Regions from separate parts of the Homo sapiens genome. Here region 2 is linked to region 1. The links are contacts of gene promoters, found by promoter capture Hi-C in blood cells and fetal thymus (Javierre and others, 2016). All regions are on one chromosome and are shown on one strand. Each heading gives the region's core, a stretch centred on a gene start or on the middle of the fragment in contact. The rest is flanking DNA. Distances are from core to core; before and after follow the strand shown. Region 1 holds the start of RAB12 (RAB12, member RAS oncogene family). Region 2 overlaps PPP4R1-AS1 (PPP4R1 antisense RNA 1).

Region 1 (5,631 bases), core at 1,882-4,381:
CCCTGGGCCATGCTGTGAGGCTCACGGTCTTTCCCAGACGGCTGTCGCGAGCAGCCCTGACAGGGTAGGGAGAAACTCCTACTGTGGAAGAGACTCTTGCTCTATATGGAATTCACTGCACTACATGAAGATGAAACTAGAAAAACCAGCCTGGGAAGAACCCCGGGAGCTAACTGCTCAAATGGTAAGCGTTCAGGTAAGGCAACCACAATTCTACACCACACCCAGTACCATATTTAATTTGCATTTTTCTAAAGGAACTAGAGGAACAAACTTATCTTCAAACATTCCAATGACGAGGAAGCCTTCTCTGACCAGGCCTCATCACTAGCCTCGACTGGAGGCGCTTTCACTGTGCTCCCAAATACCCATACACATCTGTCACTGCCCTGACAAGCGGTCACGCAGCTCCCAGAAGCTCCGATCCACTTCTGGACAGAGTCGATGTCCTGTTTACCACTGAATCCCCACTGGGTAGCATAACACCCAACACACAGTAGGTGCTCAACAAACGATCTGATGAGTGGAGGGGAAAAGCAACTCTGAAGCAGAAACTGAAGTGGAGCTGGCTGGCGTTCTCACAGTGTCTTCCCGCTCTGCAGCAGGCCAGGGGCCATGATCATTCTCTGAACATCCCACAGTTAGAAGCACGCACTGAGTACTAAAGTACTCCAGTACTCTAAGTATTATAGGCTACATGTGAAGCAAACAAAAATGAGCAAGACAGAAATTCAACCACACTCAGAGTAGGGAGTATGTGCTCGGGTAAGTGCATGTTTGTTAAGGGACACAGAAACAAACTGCTTGGTCTCCTTGCCTCCTGGTTTCTTCCTTATTCCCAAGCATCCTCCGCAGCTCTTCCTTATTCCCAAACATCCTATGCAACTCTGCCAAACTGTTTTCGTGCCAATGCCTTACTAAGGAGTCTTTTGGTTCCAGGTGCCCATAGGATCGGGTCCATTCTCCTTAGCATGGCGGTCAAGGTCTCGCAGCATCCATTCCCAAGTCCCCTAAGGAACCCTCCCCAGAGGTGGGGGGCTGCTCCACTGCTGCCAGGCTTAGAAAATCCTTCTTCCTCTCTCCTCTTCTGCATTCTAAAGCACACCTTTGCTCATCCATCTCACCCTCCATCCACTCAAGCCCTCAGTTACCCACCTATGGGTACCTGATTTCTCTTCATCACACAGTGCAACTCTATTATCTCTCATTTTTATATACTGAAGTACGGAGCCATAAAATATTGACAATTCTAAACGGAATTTAACCCTACTTTATTTATGTCAGGTACTAAAATAACAGCCTAACCCTCATTTGATGGTTTAACAACTCCCTGTACTCTGCATGATCCAAGACTGGATATTTGAAACAGGTATAGTTATGCTACTCATTTTAATATAATGTCTCCAACGACAACATTTTAAAAACATATGGTACAGACATCACAAATATTTCCAAAATGATCTATTCCAAAAAAGCATTAAGGGAAGTAAGTTCTTGAAAACAAACCAAGAAAGACAGTACAAAAATTGGAGGTTTCACTTTCCAATAAGACACTTTAAATGTAGTACTGTTTTGTTACATGACAATTTCAAATCAAGTCATCTCAAAATCGTACTGACAGCCTTGGAACTACCACTGGTTATAACACTATTAATAAATAGAATTACATGAAATTATGCTTTTAATTCTATCAAATCTCCTGACTACTCAGTTTCTTGGACCGCCCCTGGGGAAATCTCTCACTTCCTATCACGGAAGTGACTGCCCTTTATTTTAAAGAACGGGGTTCTCCTAGTTTGGACATCTTTTAAGGGGTTTTCCATAGAAACAACTGCTACCCACATCCAACTGAGAAATCTCAATGTCAAGTCCTCTAAGCATGACTTAATTAAAAAAATTTCCCCTGCAGTTTCCATTTCAGATCCACGGCTGTTTTCCTCCTTGACCCTGGAGCGTTCCTGTACTTACTTCACTCCTGTCCCTCACCGAAAACAGCGGTACTGGAGGAATCAACCCCATGCCCGCCAGTCACCGGGTTGTTTGAGGTCATGGATAAATACAGCTGAAGCTCCTCTGCCCCGTACGTACGGCTAGCACGAGAAACTTACTGTAGTTTTAGTTTTAACATTCTCCATAGGTGACTTTAAACTTCATTTCTTGAAAATGGGTTCAAAATAAGAAAACTGCCCTGGTTGCGCAGGGATCACACCCGCAGCAGACGGCGCGCGCTGGCCTTGGCGGGCCGGGCGAGAGCGGCCTTAGGCGTTCACTCCCCTGCCTGCCTGCGCTCCACTCGAACCCAGCTTTTTCTTGGGCGAGTATGCTAAGGGCCGAAGTTTCCGTGGAGAGCCGCCCCCACAGGCCCCGGGGGCTGCCAGGACCTCTGAGGCAGGGCCGGGGGCCAAGGGCAGGTCTGCCCGGAGGCGGCACGAAAACCTCTGCCAGGCTTTGGGATTGGGATGCAGGGCGCTCCAAGGAGACCCCCGCCCCTAGTTTCACCGAGAGGCCCATCCCCGAAAGACTCCCAGGCTCGATGAGACTCGAAGCCCACGGGGCGAAGGGCACCTGCCCGGGCGCCAGGAGGCCCGGCCCAGGGTCGCCGTGGCGCCCTTACCCACGGTGGACTTGCAGGCCTCGCAGAAGGTGTCGTCGGTGAAGCGCTCCATCAGGCTGGTCTTGCCCACGCCGCGGGAGCCGATAATGATGACCTGCAACTTGAAGTCGGCCGGCCTGGGGGGCTGCTTCCTCCGGCGGCCCTGGCCGCCCGACAGCGCCGGGGAGCCCGCGCCCAGACCGCCGCCGCCCCCGGCCCGCCTCTGCAGCGCGGCGCCCGGATCCATACACGCATGCGGCTCCCGCTCGGCCCGCCGCCCGCCGCCGCCCGCCCCCCGGCTGCGCGCCCCGGGCCCCGGCGCCCCCTCGGCCTCCGCCGCGCGCGGGGGGTCGGCCCCGGGCTCGGCTTCCGCCCGCTGGAGCGGCCCCGGCGGCCCGTGGGCTCCGCGCTGCAACTGCGCCGCCGGCCGGCTCTCTGCGCCCGGGTCCCCTCCTCCTCCTCCTCCGCCGCTGCCGCCGCCGCCGCCGGGAGAGGAGGAAGGGAAGCAGCTACTCCGCAGTAGCGGCAGCAGCATCCCGGACGAGGAGGGGCAGGAAGCGCAGGCGCGGGCGGGGCGGCTGGCCGCGAGGGGCCGGAGGCGGGCGGGTGGGCGCCCCCTGCCGGCGGGAGGACCGCGCGCCCGGGCCTCGGTTGGGTACTGCGCGCGGAGCTTTCCCGCAACCCGCGCCGCTCTTTCCCTGCCTCTGCTCGCCTGCCCGCCCCCGCTTCCCTCCCTCTTCCGCCGGCTCTTTCATCTTTTCTTCCTCTTATCTCTTCCCTTTTCCCCCTTTTCACTCCTCCCTACTCGGCTTTCACTCTGACCCGCATTTATAGTTAACACAAGAAACTTAGTGTGGTTTTAGTCTTAAAATTCTCCGTAGGCAATTTTGAACTTCAGCATTCCGGTGCATCATGAAAATGGGTTCAAAATAAGAAAAAGAACCCTGGTTGACAGTGAAAACACTCCCATGCGCACAGTCCCCAAACACCATGCACATGTTTTCGCCCCCGCGCGCTCGGTGTAGCTGGAACGCTGGAAAGGCCCCGACCTGAGGCCGCGCCGCCGGGCCGCCTGCGCTGCGTTCGCGTCTACACCAGCGCTCTCTCACAAACACCAGCGGGTGCAAGCCCCCGCACCCTCTACCGGGCCGTGGCACTGCTCGGTCTCTCTCCGTCACGTCTGTCTCCCATTTTGCACGGAAACGCGCGAAATCAGTTATTTTTAACTCTGATCGCTGTCTCACTCAGAGTTCAGAAGTTTTTATGCTGTTTAATTTTTAAATTAAGTAAATGGCATACTCCTTTGGGGGAATAAGCGAGTTAAAACTCAAACAGTGCGAGAAGATTGAAACTTTAGGAATTATGGACTCGGGTCGTATGTTTTGCCATTTCTGTTTGGAAGGATTTAAGGATACAGAAAATCACTGCTGATTCCTTGCCAGAGATTTGTTTAGCAAATTCCTCAGCTTGAACTTGAGCATCTCAGAACACAGGGTTCTGAATATGATAGGGGCTGGCAACATTTGCCGAATGATCACGTTACCCACAAAATTTCAGCTGTGCTGTATTTAGAACTAGGTTTAGTAATGCACAGTACACGCATATGTTACACAGCAAACCTGATTTGTAAAAATCTAGCGTTGCCCACAGTGTAGATTGGAAGTTTACATCTATGAGAGCATTCTTAACTGTGCAGTCACTGTAGGGATCTTTATAATATGAATTCTGAGAATATGTAAAATATGATCCCTCTATATTATTTGAAACACAGATCCATCACTTACCATCACGGAATTTACTTTCTTTCTTTCCTTCTTTCTTTCTTTTTCTTTCATTTTGTTTTGTTTTGATTTTGAGACAGCCTTGCTCTGTTGCGCAGGCTGGAGTGCAGTGGTGCGATCACAGCTCACGGCAGCCTGGAACTCCTGGGCCCAAGTGATTTTCCTTGCTTAGCCTCCTGAGCCGCTGAGACCACAGGCACGTGCCACCACGCCTGGCTAATTTAAAAATTTTTTGTACAGTTGGGGTTTTGGTTTGTTAACCAGGCTAGTCAACAGTGTGAGACCCTGAACTGGCCTCAAGTGATCCTCCCACCTCAGCCTTCCAAAGTGCTGTGATTACAGGCATGAGCCACTGTGCTCCGCCGCAGAACATTTCTTAGCTGTGGGTTTCTCTTCTGTTCTATGAGAATGAGAGTAGTGGCCCCTCCTTTCCTCTAGCATTGTTAGGAAAAAAGCAACTAACAATCTCTGCAGTCTGCTGCAACCATAAGGCACTATATAAATGTAAGGGATTAAAGAAACTGATTTATGCATGGCTTTTCAGGAATACTGTGATTTTACAAAGCAAGACGCATCTGCAAAGGTAATCTCAAGATTTTTAATTTGGTCCATTCTGATTAATAGCACCGCCTGTCTTAATAGGCAGATGCATGTGGCATGGCTTGTGGGGCTGAAGACCTTCTTGCCCAAAATAAAATATCTTCCCCATAAGGTAGATCTGTAGTTTCTGCCACTAGAATAATTAATGAACTAAATGACAGAGGTTGGGCAGTGTTTCTGGAGGACAGGTAAGTGCATATTCACTATTTTAAATCAATTATTATAGTGCCCCTAATCCCCTGGGAATATGTCCCAAGACCCACAGTGGATGCCTGAAACCTCAGAGAGTATAGAGCCCTCTATATACTATGTTTTTTTCTATACATACATACCTATGACAAAGTTTAATTTAAAAATTTGGCACAGTAAGAGATTAACAATAACTAATAATAAAATTCAGTTGACCCTAGAACAACATGGGTTTGAACTGTATGGGTTTGTTTATATGCAGATTTTCATCCGCCTCTGCCACCCCTGAGACAGTAAGACCAACCCCTCCTCTTCCTCCTCCTCCTCCTCAGCTACTCAATGTGAAGATGACGAGGATGAAGACCTTTATGATGATCAACTTCCACTTAGTGAATAGTAAATGTATTTTCTCTTCCTTATGATTTTCTTAATAACGTGTTCTTTTCTCTAACTTACATATTTTGTAAC
Region 2 (5,631 bases), core at 1,772-4,271, 1.0 Mb before region 1:
AACTACAAAAAATTAGCTGGGCGTGGTGGCGGGCACCTGTAGTCCCAGCTACTCGGGAGGCTGAGGCAGGAGAATGACGTGAACCTGGGAGGTGGAGGTTGCAGTGAGCCAAGATCACACCACTGCACTCCAGCCTGGGCGACAGTGCAAGACTCCATCTCAAAAAAAAAAAAAAAAAAAAAAGATGGAGTTAACAGATAACCCAGCCAAGGCTGCAGTGAGCCTTGATTGTGCCACTGCACTTCAACTTAGGCAACAGAGTGAGACCCTGTTTCAAATAAAACACAACAAACAAATGAAAAAAACACACAACCCAGCAATTCCACTTCTCGGGATATAACCAAGAGAATTGAAAGCATATATCCACACAAAAACTTGTAGATGAATGTTTATAGCAGCCTTATTCATAATAACTAAAACAAGGAAATAATCCAAATGTCCATCAGCTGGTGAAGGGATAAATAAAATGTGATATATCCATACAACGGACAATAGACATTAATAAAAAGAATTTTTTAAAAAAAGAATGAAATACTGATACATGCTAAAACATAGATGAATATTAAACACATTCAGCTAAGTGAAAGAAGCCAGTCACAAAAGACCACGTATTATACAAATCCATTTATGTGAAATGTCCAGAATAGAGAAATCCATAGGGACAGAAAATACATTACTGGTTACGCAGAACCGGGGTTGTTGTAGTGGCAATCAGGAGTGACTGTTAATGATACGTGTTTCTTTCTGGGGTTATGAAAATGTTCTCAAATTAGATGTGATGGTCACATAACTGAATATTCTAAAAACTAAAGAATTGTACATTTTAAATAGGTACATTTTATTTTATTTATTATTATTATTTTTTTGAGGCAGGGTCTTATTCTGCCACCCAGGCTGGAGTGCAGTGGCACGAGCACAACTCACTACAGCCTCCACCTCCTGGGTTCAATCCATCCTCCCACCTCAGCCTCCTGAGCAGCTGGGACTACAGGCGTGCATCACCACACCCAGCTAATTTTTGCATTTTTTGTAGAGATGGGGCCGCACCATGTTGCCTAGGCTGGTCTTGAACTCTTGGGCTCAAGCAATCCGCCTGCCTTGGTCTCCCAAAGTGTTGGGATTACAGGCATTGGCCACCTCGCCCAGCTAAATGGGTAAATTTTATAGTCTATAATTTATATCTCAATAAAGCTATTTAAAGTTTTGGGGTTTTTTGTTTTTTTTTGTTGTTGTTGTTGTTTTAAACGGAGTTTTGCTCTTTTTGCCCAGGCTGGAGTGCAATGGCACAATCTCGGCTCACTGCAACCTCTGCCTCCCAGGTTCAAGAGATTCTCCTGCCTCAGCCTCCCAAGTAGCTGAGATTACAGGCATGTGCCACCACACCTGGCTAATTTTTTATTATTATTTAGTAGAGACAGGGTTTCACCATGTTGGTCAGGATGGTCTCAAGCTCCTGACCTTAGGTGATCCACCCTCCTCAGCCTCCCAAAGTGCTGGGATTACAGGCATGAGCCACCACGCCCGGCTAAACTTTTTTTTCTTTTTTCCCCCCAAGACGGAGTCTCCCACTGTCGCCCAGGCTGGAGTGCAGTGGCGCGATCTTGGCTCACTGCAAGCTTCGCCTCCCAGATTAATGCCATTCTCCTGCCTCAGCCTCCCGAGTAGCTGGGACTACAGGCGCCCGCCATCACGCCCGGCTAATTTTTTGCATTTTTAGTAGAGACGGGGTTTCACCATGTTAGCCAGGGTGGTTTCAATCTCCTGACCTCGTGATCCGCCCACCTCAGCCTCCCAAAGTGCTGGGATTACAGGCGTGAGCCACCGCGCCCGGCCTAGGCTAAACTTTTTTAAATATAGGACTTTGAAAGCTTTAAAAAATAGGTAAACATAAACTGTTTGGGGGTATTATCTCTAAATTTTTGGAGATTTTAGTTTTTTCTTTATACTTTTCTGGGCACTCCAAAAACATGTATTTTTGTAATTGGAAAATTCAGAAAAGAATAAATGTTACAAAGATGTAGAATTCCGGCCGGCCATGGTGGTTCACACCTGTAATCCCAGCTCTTTGGGAGGCCAAAGTGGGAGGATTGCTTGAACCCAGCAGTTCAAGACTAGCCTGGGCAACAAAGTGAGACCGCATCTCAAAAAAAAAAAAATATGTAGAATTCCACCCCTCCCAACACCTGCCACATACCTACAAGCAGCAGCAACAACAAAACCTCCTAAAAAACCAAGAACATCGTTTGAGGGAGAAGTGAGTTGGCACCTGAGTTCAAGATTGTCTACCTGGATGATTTGTCCGAATAATGAAATGGTGGCAAACTGCAGCCATTCAAGCCAAGGGCAGCTGGTGAGAGGACACTGTTAAGGCACTTGCTTGGGAATTTCACAGAATTGTGATGAACAAAATATTATATGAGAAAGATAATTTTTGTATACTTGGCCAGAATAATTGAAACAGGCTAGTTAAAAAGTTATTAGTATGGTTTTGAAGTGGTTAATATCTTGGTCAGGATATTGAGTGAGAAACGGAGTGAAGAGGTGACTCCTAAAATGTTTCAATGACAAAATCCTCAGGGAACAGTGATAACTTAGATGGAATTAGAGATTATACCAAGACCATACATGTTGAAAGACTAGAAGTTCTCTTAATGCGAAAGAAGTTGACGAAGGACCATTTTGACAGAAAAGCTATGAATGTGAGGATACGCAAACGCTATTGCCATTATTTAGAATCAGGATTCCAGTGTTTGAATACTAATTCCCCTATTTGCTTGCTTGCTTGCTTTCTTTCTTTTCTTTTTTTTTTTTTTTTTTGAGACAGTCTCACTCTGTCACCCAGGCCAGAGTGCAGTGGTGTGATCTCGGCTCACTGCAAACTCCACCTCCTGGGTTCAAGAGATTCTAATGCCTCAGCCTCCCGAGTAGCTGGGATTACAGGCATGTGCCACCACACCCAGCTAACTTTTGTATTTTTAGTAGAGACAGGGTTTCACCATGTTGGCCAGGCTGGTCTCGAACCCCTGGCCTCAAATGATCCACCCACCTCGGCCTCCCAAAGTGCTGGGATTACAGGTGTGAGCCACTGTGCCAGGTCATTTGCTTTTTGATCTTTGTCAAAATACCCAACCTTTCTGAGCTTCGATTTCCTTTATTTTTAAAATGGTAATATCAATTTCTACTTCACAGGGCTGTTTTAAATAATCAGAAAGCACATAAAAGTGCTTAACAGGCTGGACGCGGTGGCTCACACCTGTAATCCCACCACTTTGGGGGGCCGAGGCAGGTGGATCACTTGAGGTCAGGAGTTTGAGACCAGCCTGGCCAACATGGTGAAACCCCGTCTGTACAAAAAAAAAAAAAAAATATATATATATATATACAAAAATTAGCTGAGTATGGTGGTGGGCGCCTGTAGTCCCAGCTACTCAGGAGGCTGAGACAGGAGAATCGCTTGTACCCGGGAGGCGGAGGTTGCAGCAAGCTGAGATTGCAGCAAGCTGAGATTGTGCAACTGCACTCCAGCCTGGGTGATGGAGCGAGATTCCATCTCAGAAAAAAAAAAAAAAAAGAAAAAAAGAAAAAAAAAGAAAAAGCGCTTAACATGATGCCTGGCACACGCTCTGAAAAATGTTTCATATATACGGTAATATTACCATTGGGGGAACTGATGTGAAAGTGACATAGGACATCCTGGCACATCATTTGAAACTTCATGTAAATCTGTAATTGTTTCTAAATAAAAAGTTAGAAAATGTATTAGCTATCTAGTCTGGGAATTATATTGTGTCATTGTGCTAATATTTTTCCCACCAAAGGAAGGAACCAAGGACCAGAGACACAAGCAATTTGTTACAAACAGTTACAGAGAAGTGAAATGAGAATGGAAGTAATTTCTTCTGAATCATATTACCATAGAGCAGCCTTAGTGTGAAGGGAGCTTAGAGTCAGGGCAGTTAACCACTGAACTTATCTGGGTTTGAATATGTGGTTTGCTATGGTTTATTTCCTGGTTCAACTTGACTCATCCATTCAGATTCAGAATAATAAACATTTAAACATTTAAAATAATAAGCATCTAAAATGATAAGCATTTCCTCCACACGTACTCTGTGCCAGGCATTGTGGAAGCCTCTCCCATATTGCTTTGAATGGGATTGCAACTAAAGCTTTCTAAATTCTAAGAGAAAGGCACAAAGGAAATTTACTACTGCCACTCTAATCCATTTAGTGCTCACTGTTTAAACATCTTTGTTTTCTCTTAATGAAATTAAAATGTGTGGAACAAATTGTGTAGGATGTAGTACCTCATCAGTGGGGAATTCTTTTGCCTCTACTAACCTGGAGCACTGGGAAAAGCACGGGAGTAGGGAACATAGTGGATAAGAAAAAGAGGGTTTATTTTCCTTTATACTCAGTTTACAGTAGTGATTCCAGCAGGATGCACTATTTTGTTCAGAAAAAGCTGATGCTAAGAAACTTGGAGCTGTGGCTGACGACCTTGGGACAGAGCTGAAGTTCTGTTGCATTCTCGGGGCAGTGTTCAGCTCCTGTAAATGTAGAAAGAACAGCCTGAATCAGGGTAACTCTGTATAGAGCTCAGTTCTGTAGGTATTTTTCTTCTCTTTTTTCTTTTCTTTTCTTCTCTTTTCTTTTCTTTTCCTTTCTTTCCCTCCCTCCTTCCCTCCCTCCCTCCCCTTCTTTCTTTCTCTCTTCTTTCTTAAGCACAGTGTGAGAAAATGTCTCTTTAGCTGATGTGAGTAAAGAGATCAAGTATCTTTGAAAAACTATGAAAGCTCTAGGAAAGGCTAAGGCTTCACATTCAGAATGTCACCTTGACAGGGAGCTTTAAAGGGAGATAGAAGAAGCATAGAGAGGAGGACAAGTAAAATTTCACAAATATACAATTTTTTTTTTTTTTTGAGACAGTCTCGCTCTGTCACCCAGGCTGGAGTGCAGTGGCGCGATCTTGGCTCACTGCAAGCTCTGCCTCCTGGGTTCACGCCATTCTCCTGGCTCAGCCTCCCGAGTAGCTGGGACTACAGGTGCCCGCCACCATGCCTGGCTAATTTTTTTGTATTTTTAGTAGAGACTGGGTTTCACTGTTAGCCAGGATAGTCTCGATCCCCTGACCTTGTGATCTGCCTGCCTCAGCCTCCCAAAGTGGTGGGATTACAGGCGTGAGCCACTGCGTCTGTCCTTACCTTTATACAATGTATAGAAATGTATAGGAGGCTTTAGGTAAGAGACTGGCAATTAGTTTTTTTAAATTGTTCCTTTTTTTTTTTGAGACAGACTCTCACTCTGTGTCCCGGACTGGAGTGCAGTGGCATGATCTTGGCTCACTGCAACCTCTGCCTCCCCGGTTCAAGTGATTCTCCTGCCTCAGCCTCCCTAGTAGCTGGGATTACAGGCATGTGCCACCATGCCCAGCTAATTTTTTGTATTTTTAGTAGAGACAGGGTTTCGTCATGTTAGCCAGGCTGGTCTCGAACTCCCAACGCCAGGTGATCTGCCCACCTCAGCCACCCAAAGTGCTGGGATTACAGGCGTGAGCCACCACACATGGCCTAAAAATTGTTCTTCTTATTTGAAAATGAGTTTATGAGGGACATTTTGTCAATCTGGCTT

What was found. Contacts are between HindIII fragments. The CHiCAGO score rates a contact against its expected background, and 5 or more counts as called.
Region 2: a fragment that was not itself captured here is called in contact with the fragment with the promoter of RAB12 in region 1 in 2 of 17 cell types (activated CD4 T cells and non-activated CD4 T cells); the score reaches 7.8 in activated CD4 T cells.

Annotation. Positions count from the first base shown.
Region 1 is chr18:8,606,937-8,612,567 of GRCh38, reverse strand. It overlaps RAB12 (RAB12, member RAS oncogene family), which reads right to left and starts at 3,131. Exons shown (of 6, transcript NM_001025300.3): 1 at 2,615-3,131. The coding sequence starts at 3,128. RefSeq lists an enhancer at 1,844-1,893 and silencers at 2,344-2,643, 3,074-3,303. The HindIII fragment of the contact is 24,115 bases long and covers 1-5,631 here.
Region 2 is chr18:9,618,114-9,623,744 of GRCh38, reverse strand. It overlaps PPP4R1-AS1 (PPP4R1 antisense RNA 1), which reads right to left. Exons shown (of 3, transcript NR_110773.1): 3 at 4,382-4,550. Among named protein-coding and RNA genes, the nearest start is that of PPP4R1-AS1, 6.1 kb to the right of the region's middle. The HindIII fragment of the contact is 2,301 bases long and covers 1,871-4,171 here.